3 separate regions of the Homo sapiens genome follow, and all the other regions are linked to region 3. The links are contacts of gene promoters, found by promoter capture Hi-C in human tissues and cell types (Jung and others, 2019). All regions are on one chromosome and are shown on one strand. The core of a region is centred on a gene start or on the middle of the fragment in contact, and the rest is flanking DNA. Distances in the headings are between cores, read along the strand shown. Region 1 overlaps SLC41A2 (solute carrier family 41 member 2). Region 2 overlaps SLC41A2 (solute carrier family 41 member 2). Region 3 holds the start of EID3 (EP300 interacting inhibitor of differentiation 3).

Region 1 (4,730 bases), core at 1,026-3,525, 580 kb after region 3:
CTGGGTTGAAAATTCTTTTCTTTAAGAATGTTGAATATTGGCCCCCACTCTCTTCTGGCTTGTAGAGTTTCTGCTGAGAGATCCACTGTTAGTCTGATGGGCTTCCCTTTGTGGGTAACCCAACCTTTCTCTCTGGCTGCCTTTAACATTTTTTCCTTCATTTCAACCTTGGTGAATCTGACAATTATGTGTCTTGGGGTTGCTCTTCTCAAGGAGTATCTTTGTGACGTTCTCTGTATTTCCTGAATTTGAATGTTGGCCTGTCTTGCTAGGTTGGGGAAGTTCTCCTGGATAATATCCTGAAGAGTGTTTTCCAACTTGGTTCCATTCTCCTCATCACTTTCAGGTATACCAATCAAATGTAGATTTGGTCTTTTCACATAGTCCCATATTTCTTGGAGGCTTTGTTCATTTCTTTTTACTCTTTTTTCTCTAAACTTCTCTTCTTGCTTCATTTCATTCATTTGATCTTCAATCACTGATACCCTTTCTTCCACTTGATCAAATCGGCTACTGAAGCTTGTGCATGCATCATGTAGTTCTCATGCCATGGTTTTCGGCTCCATTGGGTCATTTAAGGTCTTCTCTACACTGTTTATTCTAGTTAGCCATTCATCTAGTCTTTTTTCAAGGTTTTTAGCTTCCTTGCAATGGGTTTGAACATCCTCCTGTACTTTGGAGAAGTCTGTTATTACCAATCTTCTGAAGCCTACTTTAGTCAACTCGTCAAAGTCATTCTCCATCCAGTTTTGTTCCATTGCTGAGGAGCTGTGAATCTTTGGAGGAGAAGAGGCGTTCGGTTTTTAGAATTTTCAGCTTTTCTGCTCTGGTTTCTCCCCATCTTTGTGGTTTTATCTACCTTTGGTCTTTGATGATGGTGACCTACAGATGGGGTTTTGATGTGGATGTCCTTTTTGTTGCTGTTGATGCTATTCATTTCTGTTTGTTAGTTTTCCTTCTAACAGTCAGGACCCTCAGCTGCAGGTCTGTTGGAGTTTGCTGGAGGTCCACTCCAGACCCTGTTTTCCTGGGTATCACCAGCGGAGGCTGCAGAGCAGCAAATATTGCACAACAGCAAATGTTGCTGCCTGATCCTTCCTCTGGAAGTTTCATCTCAGAGGGACACCCGGCTGTATGAGGTGTCAGTTGGCCCCTACTGGGAGATGTCTCCCAGTTAGGCTACTTGGGGGTCAGGGACCCACTTGAGGAGGCAGTCTGTCCGTTCTCAGATCTCAAACTCCGTGCTGGGAGAACCACTACTCTCTTCAAAGCTGTCAGACAGGGACGTTTAAGTCCGCAGAAGTTTCTGCTGCCTTTTATTCAGCTATGTCCTGCTTCCAGAGGTGGAGTCTACAGAGGCAGGCAGGCCTCATTGAGCTGTGGTGGGCTCCACCCAGTTTGAGCTTCCCAGCCGCTTTGTTTACCTAGTCAAGCCTCAGCAATGGCGGACGCCCCTCCCCCAGCCTCGCTGCCACCTCGCAGTTCCATCTCAGACTGCTGTGCTAGCAGTGAGCAAGGCTCCATGGGTGTGGGACCCACCAAGCCAAGTGTGGGATATAATCTCCTGGTGTGCTGTTTGCTAAGACTCTTGGAAAAGTGCAGTATTAGGGCAGGAGTGTCCCAATTTTCCAGGTACCATCTGTCACAGCTTCCCTTGGCTAGGAAAGGTAATTCCCTGACCCCTTGCGCTTCCCTGGTGAGGCAGTGCCCCACCCTGCTTCGGCTCACACACTGTGGGCTGCACCCACAGTCCAACTAGTCCCAATGAGACGAACCCAGTACCTCAGTTGGAAATGCAGAAATCACCCATCTTCTGCGTCGCTCACTGAGAGCTGTAGACTGGAGCTATTCATATTTGGCCATCTTGGAACTGTATACCTGTATTTTTTATGTATATAGGGTAACCTGTCCCAGAACCACTACCAGCCCTCCATCCCTACCCCCACCCTCTATGTTCCTGGGCAAACCCATAGAATTTCTGTCCTTTTAATGATATTGAGACATAACCCTTTATCCTCTTCTACCCCTCTTTTCTTCTCTCTTTCCTCCTCCTCCAATTGGGAGAGACTTATCTAATTAGTAATACTAGGGAAAGGGGCACTAACTCATGCCTAACTCATGCCGTTACTGGCTTTCTCTTTTGAGATACAGCCTATTAGTGACAGTCTCTCTTCACCAATACAGTTAACAGCTTATTCTATGGGGTCAGGACTACAAGTTATCCAACTGTCTGGCTGAGAGTGTGTGGGTGAGTTTAATAGAGTAGGACAAGAATATTAAGCCACATTTTCTAATGCTAGCCATAAGCTAATATTTTAATCCCTGACTTCAGCATCTATTTCTAAATTAAAGTATTATCAATTTATCATCCAAACAATACAAATTAGAGCAAATTTAAGATTATCCCTTTAATAACATAACCCACTTCCTGTGCTTTTTTTTTTGAGTGGGAGGGAAGGGAATTAAGTGTTGTCCTTAATATACTTAAACATGTATCATTCTTTGCAAATTGCACAACAACATAAAAAAGCCAAGACCTTTGGGAACAAGAGCTTACATTTAGGCCATTGATCATTTCTTGTCTTATACCTCACTTAAAGTGGATGCAACCTTATCTTCTAAATGAGAGAAATATTCCTTGAACATACACACCAAGTCTTATTAAATATTGTTTTTATGCCACTCACTAAATAACTTAAGGCAATTTTATATGCTAAGTGAAGCTTCCTTGATGTCTCCAAAAGTCACAGAAAATTATTGCCTTTGGTTGGTTAAAGCCCTTTCTTTATTTCAAGAACATATATCTGAGACCCTTACTTCTTAAAACGAAACATGCTTTAGATTTATTTTAAAGTACACCATAAATCTGTATAGAATCCATGAACATATGTGAGGATTTGTGAATAAATGTTTGCCTCTGGCTTGGCTTATATACTCATGTTTTTTTCTTGTATTACTGTAAGTTTCTGTTTTCCTTAATTTGGCATCTAAAAATAATAAAACCACAATGAACTTTTAGCATGTCATCAACACTCACAAATCATATGTATTTACCATTTCCAGAACACAAATTTGCATTAAAACAACTCATTAGATTCCATAAATACTCTATCACTATTTATCAGGAATTACATATATGGCTCCAACTTTATACAGCATTCAGTCTAATTTTTGTGGTGATTTTTTTTTCCCTTTTGTTAACTGCCATGAAGCTACTTATTGGTGTGGGTTTCTGATGGGGAAAAACATTCCATTGGTAAATTTTAAGTACCACTTATAAGCTTATATTCTGAGATGGTTCTATACAGAGAACACTGCAGGTTGACTCCTAGCTGCTGTACACTTACAGGAAAGGACAGAAATCACAAAATATGATAAGCCTGTGTTCAACTTTTTTACTAGTAGTTATATAAACTTGGGTAACATACATAACTTCTATGATCCTTGCTTTTCTCATCTAAAATTAGAGATGATAATCCTTATTTTACAGAGTTTTAAACTCTACGAGAAAAAAGAAAGTGGGAATCATAACACATAGTAGGTATAAAACAAATGATAGTTATCCTAATCAGTCTCAACAGCAGTTCTAATGCAAATGAAGGCTACCATGGATTCATGGCATTGCTGCAACAATATTTATTTAAAGAGACTTGAGACAACACACAATATTTAGTTTTAAATCAACTTACCAAGACAGGAGTATAAGCCCTGACTTATCCAAGCCAATATGGCAAGAGTTATAAGGTCGCCAAAACTAGCAGCAATGGGTGTAGCAACATTATCAGGATTTATACCAGTCTTCTTTGAACCAACGATAACCCCAACCATTATTATTCCTAGAAGAAAGAATGTTCATTACTTTTTAGGCTATGATTTAAAGAAAATCAATCCCCCAAATACCAAAATGTGTAGGATAGAAAAACAGCATATCAATTCCAGTTAGACTGCTTAGATAAGCTGACTAAAGCAAACAAAACATTTACTCTAACGCTTTGGCAAAATGCCTTTCAACAAACTCCAAGTGGGGATCATAGAAAATTTAAGAAGTTCAGCATTGTATTTAGAGGCCTGAAAGCTACTAAAATTATGGTAAAGCTAAAATTTCAGATTTAGTGACATGTATATCTTAGATATAATGTATTTGTGTGTATTGAATCCAAAGGTTTTAATTTTAACCCTCAAATAAAGTATGAAAACATCAAAAAAAAAGGTGAGTCATATGTATATGTACAACAACTGGGAAGAAGGCCAACAAAACCAGATTTGTTTACATATGGCAGCTAGAAATGCTTATTTCATTTTATTACTTAAAGACGTTGAAGTATTAAGCAGCAGGACATAATTAAATTTTAAAACACTGAAGGCCAGAATACAAGAAACAGTCTTTGTAAAAGATATTCTTTAAACCTGAAGTTTCTGTCTATAAACCTACGAGAGAATAGAAGATGAAAATTTAACTGTGTACTTGTACTTTTACATCCTAATTTTCTTAAATTATACAAATGGGATAAAACTATTAACATTTATATCCACTCTAAATTGTGTAGATTTTGTCACACCAAGATACTCATTAAGAGGATGTAGTAAAGAGAAAACTTTAAATGTGCTAACCACAAATCAATATGAAAGCCTAAATATGGCTATGGAGAAAAACAGTAACAGAATCTCACAGCACTTTTAGAGTTAAAATGACTCTAAATGTTTTTGTTCCAGCATACTCACTTTATAGA
Region 2 (4,606 bases), core at 1,973-4,472, 630 kb after region 3:
ATTTATATTACGTTTCTACAATGTTTAACACTAAAGTTTAACATTATAAAGTCCTTAGGGCTAGCACTGTAAAAGTTCATAAAATCATAAAAGGAACTTTTTCCAATTATATGCGTGCTGTTCTCTCAGTATCAGGAAGTAAGTCAACATTACTCCAGATACATAATGAGCTATATAAACATTCTGCTAAGCTGTACTCTAACACCTTAGTCCTATAGATGTTACCATTCTATAGTTAAATACTGAGTGTTTCTTCAGAATAATTGGTATCTCAAGAAAAAATCCAAACCAAAACCAGCCTATTTATTGTCGCAGCTGTGATACTACTATAAGAACCTAAAACAATTATATTTCAAGTGGATGTAGGTTTGCTCTCTCTTTGGTATTATTATCTATTTAAAACTTTAATGTACTGCAATATAGTTCCTCTCATATCCTTTCTCCAACTGATGGTGGAAAAATGTTTCTATTTATGTATATTTTCCATTTAGATAAAAATGTTACCTCTTGAATAGCATCTTAGAGTCACAAATAACCTGAGGTTCCTTTAGGGAACAAACAATGAAAGATAAGAGCACATTATAAGATAATATATCTAATAGTTTCCCAGAGGCAACCTTTCTATGACTGATAAACAAAAACTGACAGAACAAAATGTCACATTTTGGCAACTTATTACTTTAGAAAGATAATTATATAATAGGTATTTGGTAACCACAAGGCATTAAGAACACCTACAAATCGGCTAGACATGGTGGGTCATGCCTGTAATCCCAGCACTTTGGGAGGCAGAGGCAGGCGGATCACTTGAGGTCAGGAGATTGAGACCAGCCTAACCAACATCTCTACTAAAAATACAAAAATTAGCCAGGCATGGTAGCGTGAGCCTGTGGTCCCAGCTACTCAGGAGGCTGAGGCAGGAGAATCACTTGAACTTGGGAGGTGGAGATTGCAGTGAGCCAAGATCACGCCACTGCACTCCAGCCTGGGTGACAAAGCTAGACTGCGCCTTAAAAAAAATAAAAAAAAAAAGAGAATACCTACAAATCAATAAGTAGCACATAAATTTTAAAAATAAATAAAAGATACAAAAAATAATTCACAGAAAAAGAATGGCCAATAAACACATGACAATATGCTAAACATTAATAATAATGTTAATTAAAACATGATAACATTTTCCTGCCATTTGGCAAATATGAAAAAGATCAAGAAGACCCAGTGTTGGCTGGGCACAGTGGTACACACCTGCAATCCCTAGCACTTTGGAAAGGCCAAGGTGGGAGGATTGCTTGAGCCCAGGAGTTTGAGACCCGCCTGGGCAACACAGCAAGACCTTGTCTCTAAAAAAAAATTTTTTTTAATTAGTGAGGTGTAGTGCGCCTGTAGTACCAGCCACTCAAGAGGCTGAGGTGGGAGGGTTACTTGAGCCCAGGAGGTTGAGGGTGTAGTGACCTAGGCCACAGAGCGAGACCCTGTCTCAAAATAAAATAAAATAAAATAAATACCCAATGTTGATAGGGACATGAAAAAATAAAAGTACTTCTATTTTGACAGTAGGAGTATAAATTGATACAAATTTTTTGGAATGCGACTTGACAGTATCTACAAAATTTTAAACATAGATATTAATTCATACCCTAATATCCAACAATGCTGTTTTTAAATCTATCCTATGAAAACATTACTATATGAATATATATTCTTATAAGGATAGTTATTACAGCACCAATAAGGAAGAATGAGTAAGTAAATTTTGGTATATACATACAATGGAATATCATGCACTCAGTTTAAAATGCAGAAAATCTTTGTATACCAATTTGGAGAGATGTATTATTAAGCAATGAAAATAAGTTGCAGAAAAATATATGCAACATTTTATTTTTATTTTTGGAAAAACTCTCATATGTATATATGTAAGCATAGAAAAGAGGCTGCAAGTGTATACAACGAACACTTCACAATGATAATCTCTGGAGAGGAGGAGAGTTTTGATTCGGAGATAAGGAATAGGAGAAACTTCATGTTTTATTTAATACCCTCTAATGTTTGAAGTCATTTTAATGAGTATATATTAATTTTTATTTTAAAAGTAAGAAAGTATTTAAATATAACATTTTGGGAAGATTTTCTTTTAACCAAGCTCTTCCAAGGTCTGTAGAGAAGAGTTACTTTACAGTCAGAATAACTATTCTTTCAGAATTTCTAAAGGGGAAAAAAGAAAAACTCCCACCTAGAAATAGATTCTCTCCCAGAGTCAGCATCTGTTCATTTTACCAAGGGATAAATTAAATCTAAAGTGAATGTTTGAGAGTAGTAACCTACATAAAGCATTTTAAACAGAAATGGAATAACAAAAAAAGACAGTAAAGTTAAATAAAGATGAAAACCCACCTGTACTATATCCAGTACCATGCCAGCTGAAACTGTTCCAAAACCAGCTAGCAAAAAGGGCACAAGTATTTGCAATGCCATGATGCCACTGGATTCCTTTGGTAATTTTGGGGTCACTTCTACAATAGCATCTTCATCACCATCACTAGATATATCTTCATCTTGTAACATGGCAGTGGTTTCTGAAGTCTCCCTTCCATCACAGTAATTATAATTGGCATAGTCATCATACTTTTGGCTGCAGCTTGATGATGCGTGCCCATTATTGGCATGAAAAGACTGCTCTGAGAAACTGTGATACTCCATGTGTTGCTCAGATCTATTACTAAAAGTCTGTACTGCAGTTGATAATCCATCTTGCCAAATGCCGTTTGCTTTTTTGTGCCTGTCTTCTTGGTTTTTCTGGTAAATCACTGGAACCATACTCAAGAGTAAATTTAAAAACTTGTCGGATTGAATTGTGTTTAAACGTAAAGTCCAATCTACAAAACCTCCTCCACTACTTGGACCACCACTTGTTTTATCGGTAATAGATCTTCCTTTACTATTAGTCATATTGTCATCACAAAAGACCCTGTACTCCTTAGATCTCAAGCTTCGGGAACCACAGCAGATGAATCAGAACCGCACAAACACTGGTTTAAATTAAGTTGTTGACTTCATTGTGTAGAAAATATTTCCACTAATAAAAGATGTTCAGAAGTTCCACAGAAGGACTGGATCTGGAAAAATAAAATAATTTTTAAAAATCAGAGAAACAAGATAGTTTCAGTATCAAGATAGATACTTCAATTCTTATAAAGGTATTAAAAACACATGTTCTTAAACCAACCCTACGGTACTGATACTATACTTTGTGGGCTTAAAACATAACTGTTTTGTGCCACACAACTGCTTTGTGTACAGAAATATAATACAGAGCTATTTTTGTGCTCAATCTTGGTTAAAAGTATTTCTTATCTTTGCATACTTTATGTGATCAATATCCACGTAAGGTCTTCAACTGCCTCTTGAAATCCCACAGTGGACAAATGTTTTAAATAAAGTAATGGCTTTTATTACTATTGCAAGGACTCAGAATCAAATTGCTATACCCTTTGCATCTGTCAGTACACAACAAAAGATATATGGCATTATACTTTAAACATTAAATAATAAACCATATTACTTTATTTACAACTTAATATAATATACATTTTATTATTAAGATATGAAGAGACAAGGATGATGTTTACTATAAAAACACTTGGTAGGTATCCTGAATACTATATAGGGCATTTATTTCACAAATAAAATGAGGCTGGAGTCATATTTGTAGTTCTGAGATATAAAAGCTCATTATAATTGATTTAGGAATATAAACCTTCTTTCATTTAGGAATAACAAAACTAAAAAGAAATTACAAATATTCACTTAAACCTCCATTTGCAAACCAGCCAGAAGAAAGCTTGTAACGCACTTATTTATGCCCTGCCCTGTCCATTCATAGTTCTCAGTCTGCTCTGGCCCATAATCCCAGGGTAGAACCCTGACTGGCTGGCCACTCAGTGACTAGAGTCTCTTTGAAGACTTTGAACTAAGAGACACAAACACATAACTGTGGCACATCAAAGAGTGATGGGCACTGAAGCTGCAAGGTCACCCACGACCTGACCAGGAAGAAAACCTGACAATTGCTGCCATAGCTGGCAAGGCTTTCCAAGCTATCAGGTGTTTCTCAGAAACACCTAGGCCTGTCTTATACTTCCAAGAGCATCTAAGACCAAAAAAATGGCACTGATTTGATAAGGGATGGGTGGCCCCAAAACCTAACTGGACTGCGTTCCTGCCAAGCTAGACTGAGAATTGTTGCTGCTACTATTGCTGCTTTTAATGAAAACTACTATATTCCTCAGTATTTGTTTCCAATGTCTTAGAATATCCATCTCCTCTCTGGATAGGAAGATCAATAGCAAGGAATGGCAAAGGGAGAAAGAGAAGGGGCTATGTAGGACGTAAGTGGGTGTTAGGGCCTGGTTCATCAATTCCATCACTCACTCACTTTCCTTTCCTCTCTCTTGTGATTACAGAGGGGTCTGGGATCTGGGAATTCCTTCTGAGGAACATTTTTAAAATACAGATTCCAGGACACCAGACCTACTGACTCAGAATGTGTGTGTTTGAGGCCCATAAATCTTTTTTATTTTTAACTTTTCCATGTGATGATTAT
Region 3 (4,509 bases), core at 1,388-3,887:
GAGCAAGTTGTGTGGGCTGTTATCTCCTGAGAAATCCCTGTAAATGGTATTAGTAATACTTTATAAGCAGGTTGGGAGAATATAGTTTTCTAAGGCATTTTGAAATTCTTAGATGAAAGGGTCTTTATGTAGCAAATTGGTGTCAGCCTATTTTCCTTCCTCTGAGCCAGAAGAAAATAGGCACCATAGGGTGGGAAGGGTTGGCTTATCTGTTAGAGTTCTTTTGTAAGTAGCTTTTGTTGAATTTTTTTTTTGAGATGGAGTCTCGCTCTGTCGCCCAGGCTGGAGTGCAGTGGCGCGATCTTGGCTCACTGCAAGCTCCGTCTCCTGGGTTCAGGCTAGTCTCCTGCCTCAGCCTCCAGAGTAGCTGGGACTACAGGCGCCTGCAACCACGCCCGGCTAATTTTTTGTATTTTTAGTAGAGACGGGGTTTCACCGTGTTAGCCAGGACGGTCTTGATCTCCTGACCTCGTGATCCGCCCGCCTCAGCCTCCCAAAGTGCTGGGATTACAGGCGTGAGCCACCGTGCCCGGCTGCTTTTGTTGAATTTAAAGTGGATGTGAGAAGCTCCTAAGAATATCGTTCACTGTAAAAGCAGACTTTTTTGGATTTGGGTCTTGGAATTCTTAACTGTATTTTCACCTAAGATTTAAAACAAGTTCAAATACTAGTTTGTAATTGGCCAGACTAGGGACAGATACGATCCTTGAATGATCCTGGGTCTCAACTTACCTTTCTTTCATTTTTCCTTTATTTTAGAAGAGGGATAAGAACTTTTTCTGAAGAGCAGTCAACTTTTCCTTTCAGTGTGTAGGATTAATTCCACGAATCTGTGAACTTAAATCTTTGCTGCCAAATAACTTGCAGTAGATGCTGGGATAGTTTTAAATCTATTTTAAGTTATACATTCAGTACATAAGTGCATCTCCGTGTAAAAACAGCTATGTTTGGAAGATCTAAAACGCAGCTTTTGTTTTTGAGAAGCCAACAATCTAATAGGGTAGGATCATATATATGTACAACTAACCGTAATGCATGGTGTTTTGAAAAATGCACGTATCTCCCTGAATTACCCCTAGTTAATAAAATAATTGGGAGCAAATGGTAATATAAGGATTTTGGAGTAACTTAATACTACTAGATTTTGCTGTTTATACATTTACAAAAAACTTTCTGCTAATGCTAAAGAAATAGAACAAGTCTATATGCATAAAGGAAGGTAGGGCTAATTTACTTCCTGGTGCTATGAAACTGGCAATTGGACAGGTGCAATTGTGGGTGTCTTTTTTTTTTTAAGGTGTACCTGTTGCAGGTTTGAAAAGCTGTTGATGCTCATGGGTTGTTTGTGTGCATGTTCTCTTTAAAAACCAGATGTATTCATTCCCTTTTTTTTTTTTTTTTTTTTTGAGACGGAGTCTCGCTCTATAGCCCAGGCTGGAGTGCAGTGGCCCGATCTCGGCTCACTGCAAACTCCGCCTCCTGGGTTCACGCCATTCTTCTGCCTCAGCCTACCGAGTAGCTGGGACTATAGGCGCCTGCCACCGCGCCCGGCTAATTTTTTGTAGTTTTAGTAGAGACGGGGTTTCACCGGGTTAGCCAAGATGGTCTCGATCTCCTGACCTCGTGATCCGCCCGCCTCGGCCTCCCAAAGTGCTGGGATTGCAGGCGTGAGCCACCGCGCCCGGCCATTCCCATTGTTATGTATACTTTGCTATTTGCTGCTGGTGAGACAGATAAGGAGTCACGTCTTTAACTGCACTTGAGTTTCCAGTGACCCCATTAAATCCAATGGGTAAATTTTCCCACGCAGATTACTCACCCAGTTTACAGATTAAGCTTTCATATCCTTAGACTGTATCTGAAATTTTCATAGCTTTGCCCACCTTTTAGGGTTCAGAGTTACTACCCATTCAGTGTCGGTGGCCTTTAGCTGTTGGCAAGCTTCCAAGTAAATAGCTCTTTTGCAGAGATCTCTACCCATTCTATTCTTCCACTCCTGGGTAGTGGAGAACCAAAGTTCACCTGAGTAATGCCCGTGCCCAGCACCCAGTTTCCTGCAGGGGTTAGCACGGATATTGGAGGCTCCCCCGATCCCACAGATACTCAGGATGGGTATTGGAGGGGGCTTGGTTTTTAAGAGGACATGTGAAAGTAATTAACCCGATTTACATTTGTATAATGAGTCCAAACACCACCTTGCAAAAGAACTGAGAGTTTAGCCTGCTTAATGGAGTTTCTGCTTTTCACGGTCCTTGGCCTTACCGACGGTTTACAGTCCAGCCAGATTTAGTTCACAAAAAACCAAAACCAGGTCGACCTCACTGCAGTATATGATGGCAGCGAGCGTTTTAAAGCGCAGGACCTTTAGTCTCCTCAATAGTTTTGTGTAAAGTTGTCCAAAAGTGTTTTTTTTTAAAGTGAGGTGATCCAGTCGGTAAACGCTTTGAAAAAGAATAGCTGTCCCCTGAGCGGGCATTAGTCGCGTGTGAGGTCAGGGCCCATCATTGCGCGTGTTGGGAGCGCCGCGCTGGTCTATGAGCGAGCGCCTCGGCTTGTGGCTGGGCCGGGCCGGGGCGGGGCTGTCTTCCCGCGGAGCGTGCTGGGGGCGGGTCGCGCCGGGCCGGGCCGCTAGTGCGCATGGGCGGGCGTCCTCGGCTCTAACTGCCGCCACTTTCCACACGCTGGGAGGGCCGTTACCTCAGAGATACCCGTGGCCGGCATGTTGGTTGAAAAAGCTTCCCGGAAGGGAGACGAAGAGAAAGGAGAGGAGCAGCTCGTGATCATCCCCGGTAGCGAGTACGCGGCGAAGTAGGCGGCGGCGGAGGGAGCGCTGATGAAGATGGATGTGTCAGTGAGGGCCGCGGGCTGCTCCGACGACCTCAGCTCTGGGGAGGCCGACGTAGACCCAAAGCTCCTGGAGCTCACCGCTGACGAGGAGAAGTGCCGCAGCATCCGCAGGCAGTACCGGCAGCTCATGTACTGCGTGCGGCAGAACCGGGAGGACATCGTGAGCTCGGCGAACAACTCCTTAACCGAGGCTCTGGAGGAAGCCAACGTCCTCTTTGATGGCGTGAGCCGAACCAGAGAAGCAGCCCTCGACGCCCGGTTTCTTGTTATGGCTTCTGATTTGGGTAAAGAAAAGGCAAAGCAGTTAAACTCAGATATGAACTTCTTTAATCAGTTAGCATTTTGTGACTTTCTGTTTCTGTTCGTGGGTCTGAATTGGATGGAAGGCGATCCTGACAAGTTGAGTGATTGTGATGATAGCATAGCTCTTTCCTTCTGGAAGGCAATAGAAAAGGAAGCAACATCCTGGATGGTAAAAGCTGAGACATTCCATTTTGTTTTTGGTTCATTCAAGCTAGAACGTTCTGCACCAAAGCCCCGACTTGAACACCAGAAAAAAGTTCGCAAGATGGAAGAAAATGGCAACATGCCTACAAAGTTGCAGAAGTTGGACCTGAGTAGTTATCCAGAAGCGACAGAAAAAAACGTAGAAAGGATTTTGGGATTGTTGCAAACCTACTTTCGAAAGTATCCTGATACTCCTGTGTCCTATTTTGAGTTTGTGATTGATCCAAACTCTTTTTCTCGTACTGTGGAGAATATATTTTATGTTTCTTTTATTGTAAGAGATGGTTTTGCAAGAATAAGGCTTGATGAAGACAGGCTGCCAATATTAGAGCCGATGAATGTTAACCAAATGGGTGAGGGAAATGATTCCAGTTGCCATGGCAGGAAACAGGGAGTTATATCTTTGACTTTACAGGAGTGGAAAAACATTGTGGCAGCTTTTGAAATTTCTGAGGCTATGATTACATACTCCTCATACTAAAGATTTCTTAGTATAGCATCCTTTTTGTGTTTTTTTTCTGAAGTTAGATGGAGAGTAAAATGTAAACTGAAGCACATATTGTATCTCTTGTAAAGTGAAAAAGTATTTTCAAGAACATCAGACATTGTTTTACTGTGCAGCATATTTTTCTTAGTAATTTATAAGGTCATGATCTTCTGTTATTAAAACAAATTCACTGGCATATTTATGGGAACGTTTTATTGAATGCCCTTTAAGACTATTAATAAAAACAAGTTTTGGATACCAAATTAAGGGATATTTGATAATTTGCAAAACATAATAATTTACGAAAATCAGTGATGATGCTCTGTGATGCGTTGCTTTCTCTGTCATAGGGAACCAAGAGAATCCCAGAAAGGGTTCCTAACCAGGTTGGGCAAAGAGTGGGTAAAAAACAAAAGTTAAAAAAAAAAACCTGTCTGTAAGGCAGTGAATATGCAACATTAAGACTAAAAAAGTCATTGCAAGGAAGACTTAGGATTTATGAGTGAGTATCCATATTCTAAACAATTTCTGTTATTGTACTCAGCAAAAGTAGTGTCTCTGCTGTAGTAGTTGAGGTATCAGCTAAGGGTGAAAGGTGAGTAGAAACACGAAGAAGGAAAAGGCATTCTAGGCAAGAGAATAGCAAGGTCAAATGCATGGAATTGTTA

Evidence for each region. The method cuts DNA at HindIII sites, captures the fragments that hold promoters and counts their contacts. A contact is called where the count stands out against the background at its distance.
Region 1: a fragment that was not itself captured here is called in contact with the fragment with the promoter of EID3 in region 3 in 1 of the 25 tissues and cell types used here (heart right ventricle).
Region 2: a contact is called between a fragment that was not itself captured here and the fragment with the promoter of EID3 in region 3, in 1 of the 25 tissues and cell types used here (dorsolateral prefrontal cortex).

Annotation. Positions count from the first base shown.
Region 1 is chr12:104,882,604-104,887,333 of GRCh38, forward strand. SLC41A2 (solute carrier family 41 member 2) reads right to left here. Exons shown (of 11, transcript NM_001352171.3): 6 at 3,690-3,836. Among named protein-coding and RNA genes, the nearest start is that of SLC41A2, 73 kb to the right of the region's middle. RefSeq lists an enhancer at 2,008-2,177. The HindIII fragment of the contact is 4,056 bases long and covers 248-4,303 here.
Region 2 is chr12:104,925,576-104,930,181 of GRCh38, forward strand. SLC41A2 (solute carrier family 41 member 2) reads right to left here. Exons shown (of 11, transcript NM_001352171.3): 2 at 2,398-3,119. The coding sequence starts at 2,952. Among named protein-coding and RNA genes, the nearest start is that of SLC41A2, 30 kb to the right of the region's middle. RefSeq lists a silencer at 3,756-4,050 and an enhancer at 3,756-4,050. The HindIII fragment of the contact is 4,880 bases long and covers 783-4,606 here.
Region 3 is chr12:104,301,102-104,305,610 of GRCh38, forward strand. It overlaps EID3 (EP300 interacting inhibitor of differentiation 3), which reads left to right and starts at 2,638. Exons shown (of 1, transcript NM_001008394.3): 1 at 2,638-4,104. The coding sequence starts at 2,834. The coding sequence ends at 3,835. The region is part of intron 4 of TXNRD1 (thioredoxin reductase 1); the gene reads left to right. RefSeq lists enhancers at 1-66, 605-774, 2,566-3,438, 2,746-2,985, 3,016-3,075 and a silencer at 2,476-2,705. The HindIII fragment of the contact is 3,401 bases long and covers 620-4,020 here.